Regions from separate parts of the Homo sapiens genome. Here regions 1 and 2 are each linked to region 3. Evidence: promoter capture Hi-C in 16 types of primary human blood cells and fetal thymus (Javierre and others, 2016). All regions are on one chromosome and are shown on one strand. Each heading gives the region's core, a stretch centred on a gene start or on the middle of the fragment in contact. The rest is flanking DNA. Distances are from core to core; before and after follow the strand shown.

Region 1 (3,401 bases), core at 242-2,741, 1.8 Mb after region 3:
GCCAACCACCCAACCCCCTCAGGTCACGTGAAGGATAAATTCGGAGCTCGGGTCCGCTACGAGTGTCAGAGGAGGGCGCGTGATTCGCCCGGGGGAGGGGAGAGGAGGGGGACGGCTAGGCCGAGGGAGGGTAGGGGCTGGGGAAGGGGGGGCGAGGCGGCGGCCAGGCCTGTGCGCGATCGCCCGCCGCCTCCCGGCCGCCCCGCCCCGCCCCGCGCCCGCGCCGACTGCGGCCCGGGGAGCGCGCGCGGCCTCCCGCGCCGCCGCCCCCGCAGCCCTAGCGCCCCGCGCTTCCGCGTCGGCGCCCGCAGCCCCGCCCGCGCCGGGGGGAGGGGCGGGCTGCCCCGGGCGGGGGAGGGGGAGGAGGAGGGGCGCCGCGGCCTTCGGGCGGGGACCCGGGAAGCCCACCCCGCGCGCCCGGGCCTGGAGGGCTCTCACCGCGGTCCGGGCGCCGCGCTCGCCTCTCTCCCCGGGAAGCGCGGCGGCCGCGACCGTCCGCGCGTGGAGCCGGTTCTTCGAAGGGCTGGCGGGCCTCCTAGCCGGAAAATGCCGGCGGAGGCCGTGGTGGGGGCGGGGAGGAGCCACCGCCGCGCCCCAGACATCGCAGGAATTCCGGACGCTGCGCCGGGCCCGGCGGCCCTGAGGCTGGCACCTGGCTCCGGTCGGGCCGCCCAGGTTTTGTGGCGCCCGAGACCAGCGTTGGGAAATTAGGCTGGAGCCATCATGAAAACTTTTTCAGGCAGTGCACGCTCGCCTGTGCCTGCCCATCTGCTTCCAACCTCTCCCCACCTTTCGGGGCGCAGCCTGCCTGCTCCATCGGAATGCCCTTTAGATGAATCCCCTTGTGCTGTTACTGTGTCCTTGTCGTCCAGCTCTCTGGTTTTCTTTTCTATACACCTTCTCGGTTTCCAGAGTCTTAATTCGCCTGCTTGTCCTTAACCATCAAAACTCTTTATTAATATCCTGGCTTTCGCTGATTTTTATTCTCCCTACCCCTTCTCCCTAGCTATGTATTGCTGGGTGAGCTCCCGAGGCTTGAAAACCCAAGTATGCTGTGCTGGCTGCGTTGTAATCGGTAGAGAGCCACCAGCTAAAAATTGTATTTTGTACCAACTCTAATGGCATTTAATAAATGTATACCTAAAAAGAGTGTGTGTGTATATATATACTATTTTACAGCAGAGTCACTAATTGATTTCTAAGCTTGATTTTGCCACCTTGTGATAGTGTTCGTAACCAATTTTTTTCATAAATTTCACAAATGTGACAACAGATAAAATCTTATAAACAATATTAGATGTAAAAAACTCGCAGTAAATGCCGCTGTCTATGCTACATGACTCAAATACACCTGCTTTAAATGATTTCCAGCAAAAATGTCCTTGCTACAGTTACTAGGACATTGATATACTAAGGTAACCATTCAGATTAGCACAGACTTTGAAAGAAATCCGACTAAACCGAAAATAAATTAGTCAAAAAGTAATTACTAAGGTAACCATTCAGATTAGCACAGACTTGGAAGAAACCTGACTAAACCGAAAATAAATTGGTCAAAAAGTGGTCGGGCAAATAGCTTGCTTTCAGGCTGATCTCCATGATATAAAAAAGTTGCCGTAGCTGGCAAAAGTTCTTTCGGATTATTGTTTCAAAATTGCCCTGCTAGTGTGATTAAGGTCCACGGTCAACTTAATTGTTTTGAAGAAAGAGGAAGTGGCCCAGAGCGCCCCTTATTCAGAGGAGAGGTCCCTACCTGGTTCCTCCCAAGCTCAAGCTTCCACCTATACAACCAACTTCTTCCTCTCTGCTTGTGGGTCTCCTTCCTGCCCCCACCCCATCCCACCCCATTCACCAAGCTTTCGCTTCTATCAGAGCACATCAGCATTTGCAACCTTTAATACTAAATTAAATTTGACTCAAATTTTTATTCCTGGTAATGGAAGAAACTTGTATAGTTAATCTTCCAGGTAACCTGAACAGAATATGATAATGTCTCAAGATATGTGTCCTTGTCTTCAGTTCAAATCAACCTAGAAGATATCGGAGTGGGGCAGAATCTTGAGATTATAAACATGCGGGTATAGAAGGCATTGCTGGTCTTCGTATCTAGAAGGCTGCACCCCTTTTCTCCCCAGTGTGACAGCCTTAGACAACATTGGTCAATGAATGTCATATCCAGGTTGGAATGCTGTAAAATGGTTTTATACAGGCTTCACCTAAAAACGTAACCTGTGAATTACAGCTGGCTCCAAACAAGTGACCACATGTAGGCCGGAAGGACTCTGGTATAGATGCCAGCTGACCTGGTTCACAGATGAAATCCTTGTCATCTAAGAATCTTCCCATTAGATTCACTTACAGATGTGTTTATTCATAGACTGTTCACCTTGAAAAGCAAAGGCCCTCAGCTCATAGGTAGTAACAGCCTCCACTTACCCAGCATGTTCTAGAGTATCTCTAATCCTCACAGCAACATTACATCCCCATTATGTGGATGAGAAAACAAGTCCTGAGTGATTACATGACTTTCTCAAGGCAGTCACCACTCACCAGTAAGTGGTGAAGCCAGGATTCAAACACAGGTATAATTGCAAAGCCCATGTTCTTTCTACCACACCAAGATGATTCAAGATTATATGGAGTTAGAGTCTTCACAGAGGTAATCGAGTTGGGTCTCTAGATTGAACCCTAATCCAAAATGACTGCTGCCCTTATAAAAAGGAGAAATTTGGACCAAGACAAACGAACACAGGGAAGAACGTACAGACACCAGGAGAAGGTGGCCATCTACAAACCAAGGCACACCTGAGGCTACCAGAAGCTGACAAAGAAGCATGGAACAGATTTTGTCTTACGGCCATCAGAGGGAACCAACCCTGCCAACATCTTGATTTTGGACTTCTGGCCTCCAGAAATTCAAGACAGTACATTTCTGTTGTTTAAGCCACCTAGTTGTTTGTACTTTGTAGTGGCACTAAGGGAAACTAACACACAGATGCGTGCCAAGATGGTGGTTTCTTTTGGTTGGCTTCATATCCGTTAGTGACCACTCCTGGTGAGGCACTATTCTAAGCCTGAAAGTCCAGTAGTTGGAATCTCGCTGAGAGTTATAACCCAAATAAATATTCCAAGGACAAACAAGCAAACCAGTATTCCTATCAATGCTCCTCACGCCAAGCGAGAAGGTGAACAATTTGCATTTGGTCCCTAGACAGTGGCATGGCGTGGCATCTGACACCCCTACTGTTCTTACAGACTTCTGGGTAAAAGTCTTCACTTGCTGCCCTTGTACAAACTTTATTGTTCGTTCGTTCTTTCTTTTTTTTTTTTTTTGAGACAGAGTCTCGCTCTGTCACCCAGGCTGGAGTGCAGGGGTGTGATCTCGGCTCACTGCAACCTCC
Region 2 (3,642 bases), core at 1,041-3,540, 1.9 Mb after region 3:
TCTCTTAGGCCCGAAACCTGCAGCCTACACCTTCTGCCTGTTAACAAAGGAAGAAAAAAGGAGAAAACTTTATTTTCCAGGTAACAATATGTAGACTGAGGACACGTAGCTTCCAGGAAAACGAAAGCACGGAAGCCTGGGGTCCCCACCGCGCGTTCATCAGGTTCGGGGCGCTGGGAATGCCCGGCGCATGCGCAGAGGTAACACGTCACATCGCATGTTCCTTTTGGCGCCAGGTTTTAACACTGAAAAGAGGGGTTGCGGCTGTGTCGAAAGGTGAATGGCAGGGCACGGAGACGCTTTGTGTGCGCAGTCTCTGTGAAACGGCTGCAACCGGCCTGGGAACTGCAGCGCGGATCAGGAAAGGTTGTTTGCAAGGTGCCTCCTGCGCAATCGGTGCTGCTGCCGGACGCCGGGGCGGAGGCGCCCGGGTCAGTGGCACTCACTGAAGTCACTGGGCAACGTTTTCCTAGAACGGGTTTCTGCTGGCTGCAGGCAGATCTCACGGCAGTTAACCTCGTAGTGTGAGCAGTATGGGGTTATGTGAGCAACCCTTCCCCCTGCTGTGGCCGCTTAGTCTCTTCACGAGGGTCTCATCTCCGCCACACACTGGCCAGCTGGGGCCGCGGGTACCATGTGCAGCGCAGCGCAGGCTGGTGGGCGCTGCCGGCTGGTGGGCGCTGCATGGTGCTTCACTGTCCCCTGCCTCGTGGCCCCGCTCCCCGCTTGGTGCCCCACCCGGAGGCAGCAGAGCCCATCGTTCTGTCTGGACTGTTTCCAATCCAGCTAACGCCGACTTTCCTTTCCGCCGGTCCCTTGCTGCCCCTTTGTCCCCGTCCTCCCACGCCTCTGGTACCCTCGCTCCCCACCCCTTTCCCTCCCCTCCAGTCCTTTCTTCCGCCCGTGCTTGGGGCTGACCATGAGCAAGGCAGGGTTGTGAAAAGCTGGAAGGGGAAGCCAGCTTGCCATTTGCTTTCTGCTTTCATTTCAACCACACTGGAGTTTGTGACGCCCTAACACTCCCCATTTCACGCGTTCCTTTTTTCATCAGGTCGTTGTTATACAGACAGGCAGTGCTTTTACTGCATGTGGCTACACCCCCACCCCAACCCAGTTACTTTTCTAGGTTTAAGCTTCCGTTCAGAAAACAAACTGACTTGTTAGCCATCGGCTAGGTGGGCTGACCTGCGTCCCCTCCCCGAGAGCACACAGGCCAGACGCTTCGGAAGAGCGTGGTCCACACGTCACCTGCGAACAGGGACTCGCCCACGAGAAGCCGCTACGGCCTCAGAGGGAACCTTGCCTGTTTGCCTGTCCAGAGCGCAGGGAGAGGTCAGTTGACCTCAGATCCTGATCCTTTTTTACTTTTTCCAGAACATTTTCTAGATCAGTTGTTTACAGACCTCATTTTGGGAAACCGCACTTCCTATTTTTACATATATTTGCTTTTTTTTGTTTGTTTTTTTGTGTTTTGTTTTTTTGAGACAGAGCCTCACTCTGTCACCCAGGCTGGAGTGCAGTGGTACAGTCTCAGCTCACTGCAGCCTCCACCTCCCAGGCTCAAGCGATTCTCCTGCCTCAGCCTCCCGAGTAGCTGGGATTACAGGTGCGTGCTACCACGCTTGGCTAATTTTTTATTTGTAGAGACAGGGTTTCTGCATGTTGCCCAGGCTGGTCTCAAACCCCTGGGCTCAAGCGATCTTCTGGTCTCAGCCTCCCAACCACCATGCCCAACTCCATATTTACATTTTTAAATTATAAAATGGTAAAACTTTATTATCAGGAATAAAAGAAAAAAGTATGTCATACAAACGCAAATATGTAAAGATGTAATTTTTGTAAAGTACTTCTTCTTGTCCTCTAACTTAGCTACACAGAACACTTTATGGACATGTTTACATGGTGAGCAGCCATGAAAAAGACTGCCTGGGCTTTTTACTCTCTGTAATAGAGAGCTTGTGCCGTCACTTGTTGGCAGAAAACAAATCCAGGCTCAGAGAAATAGTGCCTTTCCAAGGTGATAGAAAATAGATTTTACCTTTCATCTGGTAAGTTACAAATGGTTGTTTCCTTATAAATAAGTCAATAAAATGAACATCGTTTAGCATAAAGATTTTCCAAAAAAGCAATGAAACCCTTTTATTAAATGAAGTCTTATATAAAATTCTAATGTCAATTTTAATAATACATATTAAAATACTTTATTTTATAAACAGATAAAAGCAGAGCTGTTCTACTTTAAGTGAGAATATCTATTTCCTCCCTCCCTTCCCTGACTCTTCCTCACATCCCAAAGTGGCTGCTGAGGTGTCTTCACAGGCCTACGGCCAGTGGTTCTCTTGTAAAGTATTAGTTATAGGATGTTGTGACTAGCAAGAGGCAACAAAGTTGAAGTTTTTTCATGCCAACCCATTTAATTTGGTCCTGTGTCAAAACTTACAAGTTCTGTTAGCTTTCAGATATAATACAGTGCCTAGGGCCGGGCACGGTGGCTCATGCCTGTAATCCCAGCACTTTGGGAGGCCGAGGCAGGCAGATCACCTGAGGTCAGGAGTTCAAGACCATCCTGAACAACATGAAGAAACCCTGTCTCTACTAAAAATACAAAAATTAGCCTAGTGTGGTGGCGGGCACCTGTAATCCCAGCTACTCAGGAGGCTGAGGCAGGAGAATCACTTGAACCTGGGAGGCGGAGGTTATAGTGAGCTGAGATTGCACCACTGCACTCCAGCCTCTATCTAAAAAAAAAAAAAAAAAAAAATGCAGTGCATAGAATGAGGCTTTAAATATTTTGCCTTTATTTACTGGAGCATTTAAGCCAAAAAGGTACAGACCCACCAGTTTACTGACTATCCTTTGATAGTTTCTGCCATTTTCCTCCTGGAGAATTTACTCAGCTGGGGCTCTTGGACTAGCAGTCTCAGCAAAAGCTGGTGGGCTCTGGAGACCTTCACTGTTGTCCTACTTACTTGTCCTGGGAACTTGAGCTGGGAAGGACAACATGAGATTGTGGCCCTTTTGCTTCTGATAGGAACAAGCTGTCCTGACCCTGGATTACTGATGCTCAGACAGAATTGACCTCTGGGTAGCTGTGAGGGTTACACCTGCTGTGTGTGCTCTGATCCGTTGGGCAGGTCTCTGGTGGCCAGTAGCATTGGCTCACATGCTTTCCAGTGATGGTCGCGGTCCCTTCATCCTCACTACCGTTCCCCCATGACAGTGTCTTATTTACGTTTATGGTTTTACTGTCACATGCCAGGCATGATTTCAGCCCAAAATTAGCTCTTCCTTTGTTTTATCAGAAAGAATTATTTAAGACAATTTCTCTAAAACCCAAATCTTCACCTTTGGGAAAGGAGCAGCAAGCAGTCCTGTCAATGGAAAATTAGGAACCGATGGGCAGAAATCCCATTCTTCAGTAATCATCAGGAAAAAAACTAAGCTTTTTCTAATCTAAAAAAAATACAGTCATGATAGTTTGACCGTGTGTTTCAGATTTTAAAAAACCATTTTGTAAATTGAAAATATATATTTTTACTTGCTAAGAAAATGCAACTAATACAAAAGAATGTCTTCTGCCCCTTCTCCTCTGCTGCCCCATGAACAGTGCCCAGAATTAACCACATGACATTCTCTGCATCT
Region 3 (3,522 bases), core at 908-3,407:
TCTAACCTACTAAGTCTGTGTCCTTTGCTCCTTTTGTAGTATACTTTCATCTAAATTACTGATCCCCAATATGTTGATACACAGGTGAGAAAGGGAAGAATTCCTAATAAACTGCTATTACTTTTAGGTGCATGGGGTTTGATTTTTGAGCTCTAATGAAATGCTTAAACTTCTTTCCAGTTCAAATTTTACACTTAATTTATAATATTTATTGAGTATATTATGTCCTCAACAAGTAACTATAAAATGAAATACTTAACTCGGTGAAGACTATTTTATGCAAAGTTTTTTTTTTTTTTTTTTTTTTTTTTTAGCAATTTCAGTGTAATGAAAGAATTTAAGCTTTGAATTTATAATTTGCTGTGGTGGGGTTAATTTCTGTCAGTATTTGAGATTGTATTATCAGTCTTGCATAATGAAATCCTTTTTTGGCTAAGTATTTAATTCGAACATATTTGCCTTTTTAAAAAGTGCTTGGCCTAAACTTATTGTAACTGCATGAAATAAGCATTTGCTTAAAACTTAACATTGTAAAATTGTTCTCTCTGAAATGTGTGCAGAATTTAAATCATGGCCAAATGTATTACTATTACCCTATTTACAGTAATTTGCTTTGCAGAAAATATTTCTTCATCATGGAACTGTGAAATCAAATTGAAGATCTTACTGGTAAAAATGACAAATTAACAAAAGGACTAAGACAAGTGGTGCCCAAACAACCTTTTTATTCTGCAGTTCCATCATCATAATAGACCAGTTAACCCAGGAGTCCTAATGTTTTAAAACATCATTGTGGTGATCTTGTTTATTCTATCTCACTAAGGATATCCAGTTTCCTAAGCTCTTACTGGCTAGCAATTTCGTCTTAATTTTATTGCTAAATGTTCAAATTTTGCTTCCAAACTCACTTTATTTTTGCAGATGTGTACATCTGCTAAGTACTAATTTTATGTAAATGATTTTGTTGATTATCTTTCCACATCTTAAAATGTTTCTAACAGCTTTGAGATTTTATCTCAACAGGCTCTCTCTGACCCCAAAGTAGTACTTACCTTCGTGACTACTGACAAAGTCACAAAATGCAGGCGATGTCATGTATTTCGGTACAACTAAATCTAGGAAACGGTTTTTTCATTGCATTACTGCATATTTTCATTTTCATTTAAATTATGTCCCCTTTTTCTCTTGCTTGAAACAGTGCTCCTCGAACTTTGTCTTCCAGCACATTTTAAAGAGAACCAATTAAAGAACAATCACACATTCTGCTTATTAAAGGCTATTTAAAAAGAAACATTTTGTATTAGAAAATGGCCAACTTTAAAACACTATTTTTTACACTCATAAAAATGTTTTTTAAATCGCCTTGACAATCATCAGCTTTTGAAATGTGAATTCCTATTGCCAGAGTAAAGGTCTCGTTTTTATACCACCACGAAGCGCTGTATTTCTTGCTGCCCTTGCGTCCGCCCGTGCCCGCTGTCTGAGGGCGCGCCTGGCTACGGGGGCCCTCAGTACCACCGCGCCGCCACCTACCTGGGCAGTCGAAATTTGGAGCGGGTGCTCAGTACACTAATGCTACCCCAGTCTCTCCTAACGCAGAAGGAAAATGGAAACGGACGATGAGGGGACGGCCCCACAGCTCCCGGACGCCACGGCCAGCGGCGCTGGCTCCGCCCCTGCACCCCTGGTTCCGCTACCGCCACGAACGGAGGCCCCGCCCTCCTCTCGCCCCCTGCCCCTCTAGCCCGCAGTCCTCCCACCTCCTGGCGCCCGCAGGGCTCAAGCTGCGAATGAAAGCCTTTGGGGGCCGGACGCGGTGGCTGAGGCCTGTAATCCAAGCACTTTGGGAGGTCTAAGGAGGACGATCGCTAGAGTCCTGGAGTTCGAGACCAGTCTGGGCAACATAGCGAGACCCCCTCCCCCAATCTGTAATTTAAAAACAAAAAAGCTGCGGGGACTGCTGGCCCAGGGCATGACAGCGCGGGCGGGCGGTGTAGAGGGCGTGGCCGCGAGCTCAGGGTGTGCCTGGGAGCGAGCCCTGTGCGGGGCGGGACGTAGCGCCCGCGCGGTGGGGGTGTGGCCGCGAGCTTGGGCTGTGCGCGGAGGGCGTGGCCTGTGCGGGGCGGGACTTATTGCCCGCGCGGTGAGGGAGCGTGGTCTCGCGCAAGCCGGCGTGCGGTCCCGCGGCGCTGCAGTTGTGTCCAGCCGGTCACGGGGCGGCTATGGCGGCCACGTTCTTCGGAGAGGTGGTGAAGGCGCCGTGCCGAGCTGGGACTGAGGACGAAGAGGAGGAGGAGGAGGGGCGGAGGGAGACGCCCGAGGACAGGGAGGTGCGTCTGCAGCTGGCGCGGAAGAGGTGAGGCACCGGGATAAGGGCAGCGCGCTCACCGCAGCTGGAAGGTGCGCGGGCCTGGCAGCCGCGACGGCGCCTAAGGCCGGGGCTCCGCGGTCTTCCGAGTGGCCCCCGCGGTTGCCGCCGCTCCTTGGCTCTGCTTGGGCCCTGGGTCTCCGTGAAGCCGCGGCGTCCAGCGGCGCCAGCCCCAGGTGTGTGTGGTTCTCGCGTGGATCTGCTGGCGTTTCGTGGAGTCCAGGGTGAAGCCGCTGTGGGAGGGCTGGGTTCAAATCCGTTCTTTAAAGGCTTTCTGGAGCGTTTCTGGAGCATTTCTGGAGGCTTGGTGTCTTGCGGACTCGTGATCTTCCCGCTTGTCACACTGTCTTGGGCCGCAGCGCTCCCGCGGGCCCCACCACGTTTGTCGTGGATTGTTCACGGACACACCAATTCCCTCGAAACTTTTTAAACCTGCACCCAACACTTCAATTAGCATGATGTGTCAGTAGCCGATGAACACGCTTTAAAAAAATTGTTTCCAAACACAAAAAAGTGGGAGAAAATAGTCAAGTGAGCCCTGACCCCTACACAACCGGGTAAATTCAACAGGAAGATTTTGCCACGTTTATTTTCTCTCCCGCCACTCCTAAGCGAATTCCAGTCATCATGGCCTTTCACCTCTACATTTTTCAGAATACATCTCAAACGTTTTAGGGATTTTCTTACATATGCTATTATCACCCCTAACAACACTAATACTAATTTTCCAGTATCATTTTGTAGTCCATGCTCACTCACGTTTACCTAGTTTTTTCAAACATGACATTTTACAGTGGTCTGCGTGAATGAGAATCCTAACAGGGTCCACAGGTTACATTTAGACGTGTCACTTCATTTAGAGCAACCTCCTCTTACCCCTCCTAAGAGACAGGACTGATTGTCTTGTCCAGTGCCCCCACACTCTGAATTTGTCTGATAGCTTCGTTGTGGTGTCACTTAACGTTTGTATCACCTGCATGTCCTGTAAAATGAATGTTCATTTGGAGGCTTGGTCAGATTCTCATTCAAAGTTTTGTCGGCAAGAATGCTTCTACTAAGTGGTGCTTTCTGTTTCTTATTGCAGGCTATCCCCAGCTGTCTCACTTTTAGGGATGCTAAGATTGGTTCTTGGGTCAGGTGGACAGCCTGATCAC

Evidence for each region. Contacts are between HindIII fragments. The CHiCAGO score rates a contact against its expected background, and 5 or more counts as called.
Region 1: a fragment that was not itself captured here is called in contact with the fragment with the promoter of PSMG1 in region 3 in 2 of 17 cell types (total B cells and fetal thymus); the score reaches 7.7 in total B cells.
Region 2: a fragment that was not itself captured here is called in contact with the fragment with the promoter of PSMG1 in region 3 in 1 of 17 cell types (fetal thymus); the score reaches 6.3 in fetal thymus.

What each region holds. Positions count from the first base shown.
Region 1 is chr21:37,363,223-37,366,623 of GRCh38, reverse strand. It overlaps a transcript of DYRK1A not described here. Among named protein-coding and RNA genes, the nearest start is that of DYRK1A, 1.8 kb to the left of the region's middle. RefSeq lists silencers at 119-428, 459-638 and enhancers at 779-858, 390-1,315. The HindIII fragment of the contact is 571 bases long and covers 1,206-1,776 here.
Region 2 is chr21:37,254,971-37,258,612 of GRCh38, reverse strand. The region is part of intron 1 of VPS26C (VPS26 endosomal protein sorting factor C); the gene reads left to right. Among named protein-coding and RNA genes, the nearest start is that of VPS26C, 11 kb to the left of the region's middle. RefSeq lists enhancers at 1-546, 535-814, 547-1,139, 1,225-1,324. The HindIII fragment of the contact is 2,309 bases long and covers 1,136-3,444 here.
Region 3 is chr21:39,182,086-39,185,607 of GRCh38, reverse strand. PSMG1 (proteasome assembly chaperone 1) reads left to right here and starts at 2,157. Exons shown (of 7, transcript NM_003720.4): 1 at 2,157-2,356. The coding sequence starts at 2,223. BRWD1 (bromodomain and WD repeat domain containing 1) reads left to right here. Exons shown (of 41, transcript NM_033656.4): 41 at 1-126. RefSeq lists silencers at 1,982-2,201, 2,402-2,481. The HindIII fragment of the contact is 4,125 bases long and covers 345-3,522 here.